Regions from separate parts of the Homo sapiens genome. Here all the other regions are linked to region 3. Evidence: promoter capture Hi-C in 16 types of primary human blood cells and fetal thymus (Javierre and others, 2016). All regions are on one chromosome and are shown on one strand. The core of a region is centred on a gene start or on the middle of the fragment in contact, and the rest is flanking DNA. Distances in the headings are between cores, read along the strand shown. Region 1 overlaps INCR1 (interferon stimulated noncoding RNA 1). Region 2 holds the start of PLGRKT (plasminogen receptor with a C-terminal lysine). Region 3 holds the start of CDC37L1 (cell division cycle 37 like 1, HSP90 cochaperone). Region 4 overlaps INCR1 (interferon stimulated noncoding RNA 1). Region 5 overlaps CD274 (CD274 molecule).

The links. Contacts are between HindIII fragments. The CHiCAGO score rates a contact against its expected background, and 5 or more counts as called.
Region 1: a contact is called between a fragment that was not itself captured here and the fragment with the promoter of CDC37L1 in region 3, in 1 of 17 cell types (neutrophils). The highest score is 6.3, in neutrophils.
Region 2: the fragment with the promoter of PLGRKT here is called in contact with the fragment with the promoter of CDC37L1 in region 3 in 5 of 17 cell types (monocytes, erythroblasts, neutrophils and 2 more); the score reaches 9.4 in monocytes.
Region 4: a fragment that was not itself captured here is called in contact with the fragment with the promoter of CDC37L1 in region 3 in 1 of 17 cell types (monocytes); the score reaches 5.0 in monocytes.
Region 5: a fragment that was not itself captured here is called in contact with the fragment with the promoter of CDC37L1 in region 3 in 1 of 17 cell types (neutrophils); the score reaches 6.1 in neutrophils.

What each region holds. Positions count from the first base shown.
Region 1 is chr9:5,583,750-5,586,490 of GRCh38, forward strand. All of the region lies in intron 1 of INCR1 (interferon stimulated noncoding RNA 1), which reads right to left. Among named protein-coding and RNA genes, the nearest start is that of RIC1, 44 kb to the right of the region's middle. The HindIII fragment of the contact is 4,973 bases long and covers 1-2,741 here.
Region 2 is chr9:5,436,481-5,439,180 of GRCh38, forward strand. It overlaps PLGRKT (plasminogen receptor with a C-terminal lysine), which reads right to left and starts at 1,445. Exons shown (of 6, transcript NM_018465.4): 1 at 1,309-1,445; 2 at 89-214. RefSeq lists enhancers at 747-1,946, 1,002-1,091, 2,652-2,700. The HindIII fragment of the contact is 16,310 bases long and covers 1-2,700 here.
Region 3 is chr9:4,678,136-4,680,835 of GRCh38, forward strand. CDC37L1 (cell division cycle 37 like 1, HSP90 cochaperone) reads left to right here and starts at 1,434. Exons shown (of 7, transcript NM_017913.4): 1 at 1,434-1,764. The coding sequence starts at 1,633. It overlaps CDC37L1-DT (CDC37L1 divergent transcript), which reads right to left and starts at 1,345. Exons shown (of 2, transcript NR_121598.1): 1 at 1,252-1,345. RefSeq lists an enhancer at 1,568-1,657. The HindIII fragment of the contact is 3,086 bases long and covers 90-2,700 here.
Region 4 is chr9:5,602,456-5,605,155 of GRCh38, forward strand. The region is part of intron 1 of INCR1 (interferon stimulated noncoding RNA 1); the gene reads right to left. Among named protein-coding and RNA genes, the nearest start is that of RIC1, 25 kb to the right of the region's middle. The HindIII fragment of the contact is 1,254 bases long and covers 682-1,935 here.
Region 5 is chr9:5,455,161-5,457,860 of GRCh38, forward strand. CD274 (CD274 molecule) reads left to right here. Exons shown (of 7, transcript NM_014143.4): 2 at 940-1,005; 3 at 1,919-2,260. The coding sequence starts at 954. INCR1 (interferon stimulated noncoding RNA 1) reads right to left here. Exons shown (of 3, transcript XR_007061406.1): 3 at 2,271-2,700. Among named protein-coding and RNA genes, the nearest start is that of CD274, 6.0 kb to the left of the region's middle. The HindIII fragment of the contact is 5,729 bases long and covers 1-2,700 here.

The DNA.
Region 1 (2,741 bases), core at 202-2,701, 910 kb after region 3:
GGGAGGCCGAGGCTGGCAGATCACTTGAGGTCAGGAGTTAGAGACCAGCCTGGCCAACATGGTGAAACCCCGTCTCTACTAAAAATACAAAAATTAGCCGGGCGTGGTGATGAGTGCCCACCAGTTACTTGGGAGGCTGACGCAGGGGAATTGCTTGAGCCTGGGAGGAGGAACTTCCAGTGAGCTGAGATCACGCCACTGCACTCCAGCCTGGGCGACAGAGCAAGACTCCATCTCAAAAAAAAATTTTTTTAAGTTTACAAAGCATTTTCAAATGTCTTGTTATACTAGTTGAGCCTCACTACCACCTGGTAAAGGGAGTAGAACAAATATTCACATTTTATGGATGAGGAAACTTGGGCTTATAGAAGTTAAGTAACTTGCCTAATTTATCCCATTTCTTTTTCAGTAAAGTTACCAGTTTGGGCTGGGCATGGTGGCTTACACTTGTAATCCTAGCACTTTGGGAGGCTGAGGCAGGCAGATGGCTTGAGCTCAGGAGTTCAAGACCAGCCTGGGCAACATGGCAAAACCCTATCTCTACAAAAAATACAAAAATTACCCAGGTGTGATGGTGCACGCCTGCAGTCCCAGCTACTGGGGAGGCTGAGGTGGGAGGATCGACTGAGCCCAGGAGGTTGAGGCTGCAGTAAGTTGTGAATACACCACCACACTCTAGCCTAGGAAACAGAATGAGACCCTGTCTCAAAAAGAAAAAAAAAAAGTTACCAGTTTGGTAGCTTAGGGAGTTACAAGTTTGGTAGCTCATGGAGTTGCCATAGACATAGAATATATTGATTTTTAATCACAGCACACAACAAGATGTACATTTATATCCTTGTGAGTAAGTGAATATGGTTGAGAGAAGAGGTTAGGTTGACAAAGCAACTACTAAAAAATTGTCTTTTTCCCTCTGTCTTATGGGTAACTTGGATGAAAACATAGAAGATGAGCTTATAATATATGATGATTAATAAAGTAGGGAGAGAGAGTCAGTTGGATAGAAGAGTTTCTATTTCAAAATCCCAGGTTGCCACAGTGGCTCACACCTGTAATCTCAGCATTTTAGGAGGCCGAGGCGGGCAGATCACTTGAGGTCAGGAGTTCAATACCAGCCTGGGCAACATAGCAAAACTCCATCTCTACAAAAAATACAAAGATTAGCCAGGTGTGGTAGTGTGTGCCTGTGATCCCTGCTAATTGGGAGGCTGAGGTGGGAGGATCGCTTGAGCCCGGGAGGTTGAGGCTGCAGTGAGCCAAGATTGTACCACTGCACTCCAGCCTGTACAACAGCATGACGCCCTGCCTCAAAAAATAAAAATAAAAAATAAAAAAATTAAGTCCCAGGTTGAATCACGAGGTCAAAACCAAAGAGGTAGAATGAAAGGTCCTGCTTTTGATCCACACACCTAAGATGGAAGAGCAGTTTATTAGCAGTTAATATGAAAAAGTTCTGGGGATTTAATAGAAAAGAATTTAAACAGTATCATACTCATAAACTACAAATGTGCCCTAAGTACAAATGCAGGTTGAATTGAAATCCAATTGCTTAAAAACTAAGGAGGTTGGGCATGGTGGTTCATGCCTATAATCCCAGCCCATTAAGAGGCCAAGGCAGGTGGATCACTTGAGCCCAGGAGTTTGAGACCAGCCTGGGCAACATGGCGAAACTGCGTCTCTATAAAAAATACAAAAATTAGCTGGGCGTGATGGCGCACACTTGTAGTCCCGATACTAGGGAGGCTTAGGTAGGAGGATCACCTGAGCCCAAGGAGATCAAAGCTGCAATGGGCCATGACCTCACCACTGCACTCCAGCCTAGGCAACAAAGTGAGACCCTGTCTCAAAACAAAACAAAAACACTAAGGAGAACTTCAGCAGTGTTGACAGGACACTGTTCAGAACTGGGAACAAATAGTCCTATGGAACCTACTATGTCTAGGCCAGCCTACCTCTAGAATATTTTGTTCTATTCTGGGCCCGACTTGTTAATTGGGACATGAATAAATGAGAGTAGATCTAGAGGGAAGCACCCAAGATGGCAATCGGGCTTGAAGCCACCCCTAGACTAGGAATATTGGAAGAAGCTGGGCGCATTTCTCCTGGAGAAGAATTATCAAGGGAAGACATGAGAGCCAAGATCAATGGGTGCAAGTTACATTGAAGAAGAATTTGGCCCAGAAATGGAAAGAATTCACTAACAACTAGAGCTGTTCATCAAAGGTTAACCTCCTGGTTCCTGGATATATCTACATAGCCTGGAGCTACCATTTTTCAGGATACTCTGGAAAGTATTCTTCCCTTAGGTGATGAATTACAAATCTTCTTACTCTAAGATCCCATAATTCTTCAAACTAGACACTTAACTCCTATGAGCCTCAGTTTCCTGAGAAGACTAAAATGAAATGGCTTGTAAATCCCCTTCCAGCTCTAACTTTCTATGAAGTACTTGGTCCTAAAGGGTACCCTCGTTTATGTTTCACAGAGATACCAGAAACAGGAGTCTTTTATCTTCAACTTGACTCTCAAGATGTTATCCTCAAGTGAACTTTTTTCTACCAGCTGAAATATGTCCTTAAAATCTTTGAGTCAATGAATCATGAAATGAGCCAGGTTTTCAAATCTCATTTGTAGGGTTCCTTAAGAACTATGTCCACTTGCCACATTCTTTTCTGAATATTATTCTTTTTTTCTTCAACCCTGTTTTTTAACCCAAACATCCTGTTTTCAAACATCCTGTT
Region 2 (2,700 bases), core at 195-2,694, 760 kb after region 3:
GGGTTAGGATCTCCCCTGAAAAGAGAGAGTCCTCATGTCAATCATCTGGGAAAGAAACACTGTCTGGGAAGTTAGTATTTAGATTTACCTCTTTCTGGGCCTTGCTCTCCTGGGTCTGGACTTGTAGTCTGAATGTGTTAGAGGACGCTCCCAGGTGGAAGGGTTAAAGGTGGAAGCCAAGCAGGAAGAAGAGCTTCCTTATGGGAAACCACACCTGAGAATAAATAAATGCATCACACCTTGTAAATTTCACCCTGGAGTTCAGTATTTTCAACATTCTTTCCTTTCCCAACTTCCCCATTCCTGGCAAAGTCATTTCCCAAAGTCTGGGAATATTCCGTAGGGTGTCCAGAACACTTTCAGCTATCTCCTCTTGCTCACAAAATATGTATCAGAAAATAAGCAAAATTGACCTTGCAATAGGGATAACTTTGATTTCACTCACTTGTATAAGTTAAGTCTTTTAAAAATTCTAACACTTTTCACCAGGGGTAAAAAAAAATGTCTTGCTACTTATACAATTTTAAACATCACTGTGTCTCAGAGTGATGTTTTGCAGAGAATGCTGATTTCAATCCCTCTGTCTTCATTTTCCCTTTGATTCCTTCTGAGATCTTGGAAGGGGTCTTTAATGCTTCAGCCCTGCCTCAGGTGAGCTATAGATTACTATGGGAAGGTGTATTTCTGGGGAGGAGAAGTGGTGCCTGCAAGTTCCAGACAACCTTTCTTCCGGTCACCCGTGAGTACCTAGATTTGATTTTACTTGGGGGGACATAAAAAATTAATTGCATGAATTCTGTCATCGGGATTACCACGCTGACTTATTTCCCGATCAGATGACACATTGCCTGAATGTATGACTGATCGTCTCACCACAGTCATTTTCAATATTTGCATCCCATTGAAATTAAGCCACATCCCCTTGCAAATTCCAGCCCAGAGCCCACAGCTTCCGGAGGTTTTCTGTAATTAACACCGCCCTTGCTCCCTGAGGCCAGTTACTGTAATTTAGGTATTCCCCGCAATAGTGTGCTGATTTCTGTTGAGAGCACTGTGCCTGTTTTTCTCAACTCTATTTTAAAGCTACGGAGAGATCCGGAGTCCACGCCAGGCGACAAGAACGCGCTCTAATGGAACGAAGTTGGCAATACCTATCAGCACCAGGGGCAGTGCGAGAGCCAAGAGCCGGCGCTCACGAGGAGCGGGCGCCCAGCGCTGCCTGGCAAGCCCGGAGCCCAGGAGATCGCGCTGACTGACATGGCCGGGCTGACCCTTCTCCCCACCCGCCTGCGGCCGGTGTTCACTCACTGGGCGGCGCTGGTGCCGGGACCAGGCGACCGGTACGCAAACCTCCAGGCCCGGGCTCCTTTCGCCCGCTGCAGGGACCGGGCCTCGCTCCGCCCAGCGTCGGGATTGGCGCCCAGACACAGTAGATGACGCACCTCAGCCAATTCGCGCAGCCCTCAGCTTCTTTAAAGAGCCGGCACTTCCGCCAGAAGCCGGGTGTGTCCTTCCGGGCCAGGCTCAGTGTTACCAGAGGTGGGAGGGGAAGGTCAAAAGAGGCAAATTCAAAGCCGCGGCGACTCAGCTGCCAGATTTTTGAGATGAGGCAGAGGAAGCGGAGTGGAATTCTCAATTAAAGGCCTCTGTCCCCTCATCTGTTAAATTGGCACTATTAAAAAGTCATAAAGATAAGACAGAAACGAGAAAGAAGAGAATTGACTGAAATTACCCATTCTTTTTTGAACAGAGCCGTCTTTCTCCCCTGCTGCTCAGAGAGATGTCGGTCTCGCCTCAACCTCACCAGCAATTTCTATCTTGAATAAGCCACGTCTCTCTCCCAGCCTGAGAGAATGCTTGAATTGTTGGCACTCTGTTCTTTGCTACCAAATGGCTTGGAAAAATAGCATGAACGTCACCAGTCTCTGGCCTTCAGGAAAGTCCCTGCTAACCACCACAGCGGTGGAGAAGGCGTCTAACTTTCTCCAGGCTCAGCGTGTGAGTGCACACCGCCCTGACCTCCTGGGCGCGTCTTGATGCTCTCAACAGCAGCCCTCAGGATTCTGGACTGTGGGTCCCACATTCCAGATACCATTTGTGGAATGGCTGGATGAGAAAATTGCAACAGCACCCTCATTTCCAGTTAAGGGAATGGGCGGGTTACCAGGAGGTTTGACACTCTTGAAGGGAGGTTAACAACTGATGCAAGAAGTAAGGAATCGTGTTTGAGTGCACAGACTCTAGCATAAACACACCTACCTTCAATTTCTAGCTCTGTCACTGTCACTCTGAATTTATCACCTCTGCAACAGGACTAAAGCCATCTAATTTATTGGATTGTGAGGACTAAAAGATAATATATGTGGGCATTTAGCACAGTGTCGGGCACATAGTTCGCCTTCCGTAACCAGTAGTAACCAGTAACAGCGGGGAGCTGTTAGTAACTATAGGGCTGAGGGGTGGGGGAAGGAAGCAGTTACTAAAACCAGGCGAGAGCGAGAGCGGTAGCTGTGGCTGTACGAGAGAGTAACCAACTGGAACCGTGTCGTTCAGTAGAGGAAAGCAAGCAATGCCAACTTTTCACCAAGTAAGGTGAGATTCTATAGTTGTAGCCAGTGCTGAGACGTCAGCCCAAAGCAGGGACAGAGTGGAGAAGACCCACCTCTCTGTTCTCCCAGCTCTGATATCCAGCTGGGGTCT
Region 3 (2,700 bases), core at 184-2,683:
AATACTATAATTATAGTATACATTCATTGGAAAAATATTCAAACAGCACAGTACAGGGAAGCTAAATGTGGAAAGTAAAGATCCTCAGAAGCTTTCCTTCCTAGGCTCACCCACCAGAGGTAATCATTAACAGTTTCTTGCATATCCTCCAGGAATGTTCTGCGCAAACACACACACACACACACACACACACACACACACACACGGACGCAAACAAATACCATCCCTCTCTCTTCTCTCTCTGTATACGTACGCATATGTTTAATTCTGCAAGTTGCTTTGTTTAAAACTCAATACCTTTTGGAGGTATTTATATATCAGCATATTCAGATACAATTTACTTTTTTTAAAAAGGGTAATATGCCATTGTATTAATATTCCATACTTTAAGTTCCTCTATCGATGGACAATTAGAATGCTTTTTTTTTTCTTGCCACACACACACAAAAATTGCTGCCAGAAATCTTTGTAGTAAATCTTTGGATATTGGTGCAAAAATAATTGTTGCATACTTTCTTAGTGGTGAAATTGCTGAATCAATCCGCTCAAGCCTCTCATATTGTCAAATTACTCCTCCTAAAAGGTTATACTAATGACATTCTCACATCATTTCCTTACATCTTGGTACACATTTGGTATTAAGCGACTTCACAAGTTTGCCAGTCTAAACACATGGAAAAAAATGGCGTCATGTTGTTTTTATTTGGGTCTCTTTATGAGTAGGGCAGCAAGACCTGATTGTTAAACGTTCAAGTTTTGAAGTTAAACTCCCTGGGTCTGGATCCTACTTCTTCCTTGTAAAATGTGTGATCTCGGGCATGCTGGGTCTACTTCCTCGTCTCAAAAAAAGAGGATAAAGAGAGTACATATCTTTAGGCTTAAACAAGATACGCAGGCATACAGGAAGCCCTTCTTATGCGTTCGCTACTAGCGGTACTGATCCTAATTTTTTTGAAGCCGTGCCGGCTCCGGTACTTTATTTTTGGTGTGCTCCTCCAACCAACCAAGTTTCGCAGAATTCTGTTGTTGCCTGTAATTAGAAATGAGACGAAAATTGGCTCCGCTTGTTCAAAATTCTCCTCCCTCCGCCCCAACTCTGCCTTAGAATCACTGGTTTAAATGTCAATGTAAAGGAATGAGTTGCAATTTTTAAGCAACATGTAAAGTGCACACCTGGTCTGAGTACCTCCCGGCGGCCAGGACCCGCCGTTTTCGGTATAGGGAACACCAGATAACAATATATAACGCTACCTAACAAACGTTTCTCCACCCACAGCGCCATTAGCGGTTAGGTTTGCAGTGCCGAAGAGCTGCAAGAAAACGGGGCTTGAAACAGGAATACAATTGCAGATCCACCCACTACACGCAAAGGGCCCGGGACGCGCCTCCACAGCCCCGCCCCAACCGGAAGTGACGCACCGCGCCGACTATTTCTTCCGCCGTCCGCCGGTGGCGAGGCCCAGGCTGTCGCCGGGTGTGCAGCGGCGTCGCGGCCAGTAGAGGGATTCTGGGTAACGGCCCGGACCCCCGGCTGGGCTTCTGGCTCGGCGCAGCAGGTTCCATTCACGCCAAGTCTGTTGGCAGTGGCAGTTGTAGGGCCAAGGGCGGTTGTAGGACCCGGAGCAGCCGGACATGGAACAACCGTGGCCGCCTCCGGGACCCTGGAGCCTCCCTCGGGCCGAGGGTGAGGCTGAGGAAGAGAGTGACTTCGACGTGTTCCCCAGTTCTCCCCGCTGCCCGCAGCTGCCAGGCGGCGGCGCCCAGGTGAGAAGGGGCCTGCGTTCTGCGGAGGGATGGAGTGGTGCTGTCGCCAAACCCCTGGAATGCCGCGTCTCCCAGACCCTCTTCTACGCCTTTTTCTACGCCCACCTCACTGCCAGGGGCCGGGGACCTGGGACCTGACGCCTGATGCCATCCCACCCCTTTTATGGCATCTTCGGAGGGCAGACGGGGTGGCCATATATTACCAACCTCCACCTCCACGCACATGTTTTCTTTCGCCTTGGCTGATTCCTGTTCACTCTTGGAATACCTTCCTCCATCTCCCCTTCCTGACAGCACTCAGATTTGGGGCGGCTCATGCTGTAACATTGACCCTTTGTCCTCTTGTGAGAGGTTTTCCCCAAGCACTTTATTCTGTTAAAGGCTCTAGCATACTTGTGCACAGTTGCTAGGAACAGTGAATGATTGTAGTTCAGCATCACACTGAGTCCTGACAAAGATTTCACATGCGATTTTCACCGATGTTGACAACTGAGTAAATTCTTTAAATCTCGCTTTTGACGCTGGCGTACACCTCTCCCATTCGCGTGACCATCTTTGCCTTACTGTTTTGTTTTTTAGTTTTGCTTCACGTCATTCTCCAGTGAAAATATATACGCATATACTTGTGTTTTCCTTCAGACTTCTCTTAGGTTCCTGGTATTGTGTTTTCAATCCAGCATTCCTGCCTTCCTGCGACTGAAACGTATCCAAATGTGATATACTATTAAGGATTTTTCAGGGACCTATCTTAGGGGATACTTACATACTCGCATCACCTTGTCCTGTTTTTTTCTCCGAATCCGTGTGTGTTTTGGAAGTATATTTCAGAATCACAGACTAAACACTAATATATTCAATGGATCATAAGTGTCTGCCGCCTTCTTGCAAAATGGGGTTCCCAAGAGTGTAACAGATTTAATAGTAGTTTTCCTCTCA
Region 4 (2,700 bases), core at 59-2,558, 920 kb after region 3:
TTGAGGTAACAACATTACAGAATAAAAACCATGACCCCATCACCAAATATAAGAATTAGAATATTACCAATACCTTTACATATACCCAGAGTCATAGGTAGCCCATCCAGAGCCTCTGTGCAAATTAGAAAAAAAGCTCCTCTTCTTTGGGTTGGACACAACTCTAAACCAAGGTGCCTTGCTTGCCAAACAGAACACAGGCTATATTAATTACATGACCCACTTCTGCCCTGGTGTGCTTTCAGACTTATGTAAATGGAATTCTACTGTATATATTATCCTACAAATTATCTTTTTTACTTAACATTATGTTTGTAAGATATATCAATATTGTTACATGTAGTACTCCATTTTCACTGCTGTGTAATATTTCTTTGCATGTTTACGTGCTAAAAGAATTAACTCTATATCCCACTATTTCAGTTACAGGGTATCTATTGAAGGGTGAATGTGACTAAACTAAAAGAGAAATGTAGATCACATAAAGATGGATAAAGGAACTCTGGATCTTATTTTGGGTCAGGGAAAGCCAGTGTGCTTTCATTTGATGAGAAATAATTGCATTATATTAGGCAAGAGTGAGCTGGTAAAGGAGTGAGCACAACAGTAAATGTCTGGTGTCCATGCAGTGAATATTTTACATTCACTTATTTTCTCTATGGCATTTTCTGTCCTTTAATAAGCTTTTTCACTTTAATAATGTGGAAAATACAGTAATAGTGACAATCCATGCCTATTTAAGTAATGGGAGCACAATATGTGAGCTTACTAGAGAACGGCTATGACTGAAATGGACTCTACATCTTTTCATTTGGACTTACATGCAATTTCAATGTCTTTTGCTAGCAGATGAATGTGAATTCATTGCAGTGGATTTTTTATTCAGATACAGAATATTCGGTGCAATTTTTCTAAGTCACTATAGTCAATTTTCAGATAACAAAAAGTCCAATAACTTCTAAAATAGAAGAGAGAAAAATGGAAAAAGAAAACAAACTTACAAACAAAAGCCCAACCCCAATCAACTGAGTAGAGAGCAATAAAGGAAAAGGGGGAAAGCCAAATAAAAGTTGGACAAATAAAAATTAAAAGTGTGGTGGTAGAAAATGTCTAGATATATTAATAATTATAATAAATATAAATCTAAACTTTATAGTAAAAGACAGATTGGGGAACAAACAAACAAAAAACCTCTAACTACATGCTCTTTCAAAAGAAAAACCTAAAACTTAAGACACAAAATGGTTGAAAGATGTAGCAGGAAAACAGTAACCAAAAAAACAGAAGTGTATATTAAAAATCACACAAAATAGACTGATGAAAATAGGTATCGTTAGAGTTAGAGAGGGACCACTACTTGATTTTTATAAACGTTCCAATTGTCAGTGATATAATAACTTCAAAGTTTTACACCTAGAAAAATTGTTTCAAATATATAAAGCAAATATTTACTGAACTACAAAGAGAAATTGCCAATGAGAGCTTTCAATATATCTCTCTCAATTACCAACAGACCACCCAAAGCAAAGATATTAAAAATATGGAAGATCTGAACAACACAATTAATAACAATCAAATAGATAAAAATTCTGCATCCAACAGTTGGCAAATGCACTTATTTTTCTTAAATATCATAGTGCAATTACAAAAATTGTCCATTTATTAGACCATATGGCAAGTCTCACAAAATTATAACACAGTCCTCATTCTCTGTGCGCAAAGTAATTAAGTTAGAGGCAATAACAAAAGATAAATCTATAAAAGTTCTTATATATTGAAAAATGTGGAAACACACTTGTAGGTAATTCATGTGTCAAAGAAAAAATTATGGAAGAAATGTAAAAATCCTAAAAGCCGAATGATAATGAAAATATCACCTACCATGTTCTGTAAAACAGTCAAAGTCATTCTCTAAGGACAATTTATTAATTTGAAAGCTTGTTTCAGACAAGAAGAAAGGTTAAAAATTAATGAGCTTTGTGTTCAACTCAAGAAATTAGGAGGAAAAATAGAAAAACAATCAAAGTAGGAGGAAATAGATAACAGAGATAAAAACAGAGGTTCAGAAAAAAGTAAACAAAGCTACAAAAAAAGAATCCACAAAATTAAAAGTTTTATTTTATAAACAGAACAATCTCTGCTGAGATTGAGCGAGGAAAAAAAAAGAAGGCACAAATAAGCAATATTAGAATAAAAAGGGACCTAATCACAGACAAGGCAAAGATTTTTTTAGATGAGCTACTCTGAATCAATTTAGGCCACATATTCAAAAACTTAGGTGAAATGGGCAAATTCCTAGAAAACTATAATTTACCAAAACTTACTCAAAAACAGAGAACCTGAATTGTTTTGTATCTACCAAAGAAATGCAATCAATATTTTTAAATCTTCCCACAAAGAAAATATTTAGTTCAGATATGTTTACAAATTACTTACACCTAGGTTTCAAGAACGAGATCATTCCAATCTTTAAAAATGTCCTATAAAACAGAAAAAGAGGGACTATGACACAATTCACTCAATGATATTAACGTAACCTTGATAGCAAAACCAAAGAAGGACAGGACAATAAAGAAACCTTTTGAACCAATCTCACTCATAAACATAGCTACAAATTCAAATTAAATACTAATGAAACAAGCTTAGGAGTTTATTTCAAATAGATAATACATCATAAACAAGTTGAGTTTAACCAGAAAT
Region 5 (2,700 bases), core at 102-2,601, 780 kb after region 3:
TGTAAATATATGTATAACAGAAGAGGGAGAAAATATTAATAAATGCACAGATTGGCTGAAATAGAGTATAAATCTTTTACTCCCCTACTTCAACATAAACTGCAAAAGGAGAGTGACTTTTCTTTCACTCTGACTTCCGTATTCCTCATGCTTAAAATAGTGCCTAGCACAGAAGAGGTGCTCAATCAGTGTTTGCTAAACGAAATAATTAGTCACATTTCAAGCAGGATGACTAAATGAAGAATAGAATCTAGGCAGATACTCTGGAAGAGTGGCTGTGAGTCATTCATATCTTAGTATGAATTAGTCAAATCCAACTCTCTCCCCTTCCCACTCCCCACTGTTAGTAGAAGAATCTGTTTATTGAGAGAATAGATTTATAATTTAGAATAAGTGAGAGGGGCAGAAGAGGAGATTTTGAAGGATGGCACCTGAAGGAGGACTAGCATGGCTGAGACAGTGAAGTGGAAGCCTTGAATAGCTAAAGGGTAAGATGAAAGTATTTAGCTGTAGGGGGAAAAAGCATTGACAGGTTGGAAAAGTAAAAGTCAGATTCTCCTTGCTCTGAAATTTTGTACAGGGCAGGTTCTACTAGGTATGTTACAATGCAGAAAAAACATGAAATAATTGAGAGGAATTTGGTGCAATATTATCTTCTTGGCTTCTTTTGAGTGGGCAGATTTTTTTCACGGCCTGTAACTATAATAAATTTGAAACTTCTCATCTTTTAGTAACTTTTTTCACTTAAGTTTATGTGGCTGTGGGCAATGGAATGAAGATATTGAACTTCCAATTCCCTGTTGGGTTTCCACAATTACAAGTCAATCATGACTGGTTATTAGAAGACTATTTCAGTTAGAACCACCAAGTCCCATATTGTCATATTGTATGTTTAATTATTAAGTGAAGCAGTCTTCTTTTCGTGTTTTCCATAATTAGGGCATTCCAGAAAGATGAGGATATTTGCTGTCTTTATATTCATGACCTACTGGCATTTGCTGAACGGTAAGACACCAAATCCTTCCATTAGGTTCTATATTTTAAATATTTTAACCATGAGTTTAAAACTAAAATGATCATTTAAAATGCATGCAATTTTCTTATAGAGAGAACATTCTATTCTTTCTTCTACTTTACACAATGGCAAAGTCTTCTTTCTACTTTACGCAATGATAAAGTTACCTGTGTCATTTTGTAAAAATATAGAGAATATAGACAAATTGAAAGACACAAAATAATCTATTACCCATTTCCCAGGGTTAACTACTGAAAATATCTGGGGAAATGGCCTGTATGTATACATTTATTTGTTTGCTTTCAACAAGGCCAAGATCCTTTGATCTTTCAGTCTTGGTTGCTCTGTGACATGCCTTTCCTGATGAGGATACTTTAAGGAAGAATTGTAAGATACATGGAAAATGTCAGGCTAACACAGTACTGGCATCACCCTGTGCTCTTTCCTGAACTCCATACCAATGTACTTCTTGCCAGAAAACTGATCAAAAGTTTAGGGAAGTAAAAAGAGATGACTGTTAGAATCTACCATTCCCTCTATGTAGGAAGCAAATAGGTGTCCTGTCAAAGGACATTCTGGGGATGTCTACATGAAACCAAGTCTCCCTGGTTGTAAGGACTCCATCTCCATATAATATTTATACAGTAATATATGTTTATAAATTGTGGGGGCAACTTGTTTAGCTAATTTTATTATTCTGCTATTGGGACACTGTGTCTCAGCATGAGATATAGTGTCCCAAAACATATTTCAAGCCCATTGGATAAAATATGTGTTTAGCAAGTTCTTAAATATAATGATAACATAACCGACCAGATAAAGTGATTTATAAACGCTGTGCCAATTTTGTAAATGTTTCGAGGAATTTTCCCTTTTCTGAAGATTGTCCTTCTTTCTTTTTAGCATTTACTGTCACGGTTCCCAAGGACCTATATGTGGTAGAGTATGGTAGCAATATGACAATTGAATGCAAATTCCCAGTAGAAAAACAATTAGACCTGGCTGCACTAATTGTCTATTGGGAAATGGAGGATAAGAACATTATTCAATTTGTGCATGGAGAGGAAGACCTGAAGGTTCAGCATAGTAGCTACAGACAGAGGGCCCGGCTGTTGAAGGACCAGCTCTCCCTGGGAAATGCTGCACTTCAGATCACAGATGTGAAATTGCAGGATGCAGGGGTGTACCGCTGCATGATCAGCTATGGTGGTGCCGACTACAAGCGAATTACTGTGAAAGTCAATGGTAAGAATTATTATAGATGAGAGGCCTGATCTTTATTGAAAACATATTCCAAGTGTTGAAGACTTTTCATTCTTGTAAGTCCATACTTATTTTCAAACAGAACAGCATAGTCTGTTCATTCATTCATTCAATTCATGAATTCATTCACATAATTATCCAATTTCTTGAGCACCTATTTGATAGTCACTGGAAATCCAGAGACAAACAACACAGAGCCATGTTCTACAGTATGTACAGTTTTCCAAAAAGAATTTCTAGTCTTTACTTTTTTATTACAAATGGAATACGTATACTTGCAAATAATTCAGATACTGTGGAAGAGATCAAATGAATTGCAAAAGTGTCCCTCCTCCCTTCACCACTATCTCCCATGGCATGCAGAGAGAGTAACCATTATTTGTGTGTCCCTCCAGAAATTTTTTTATTCAACTACTATTTTT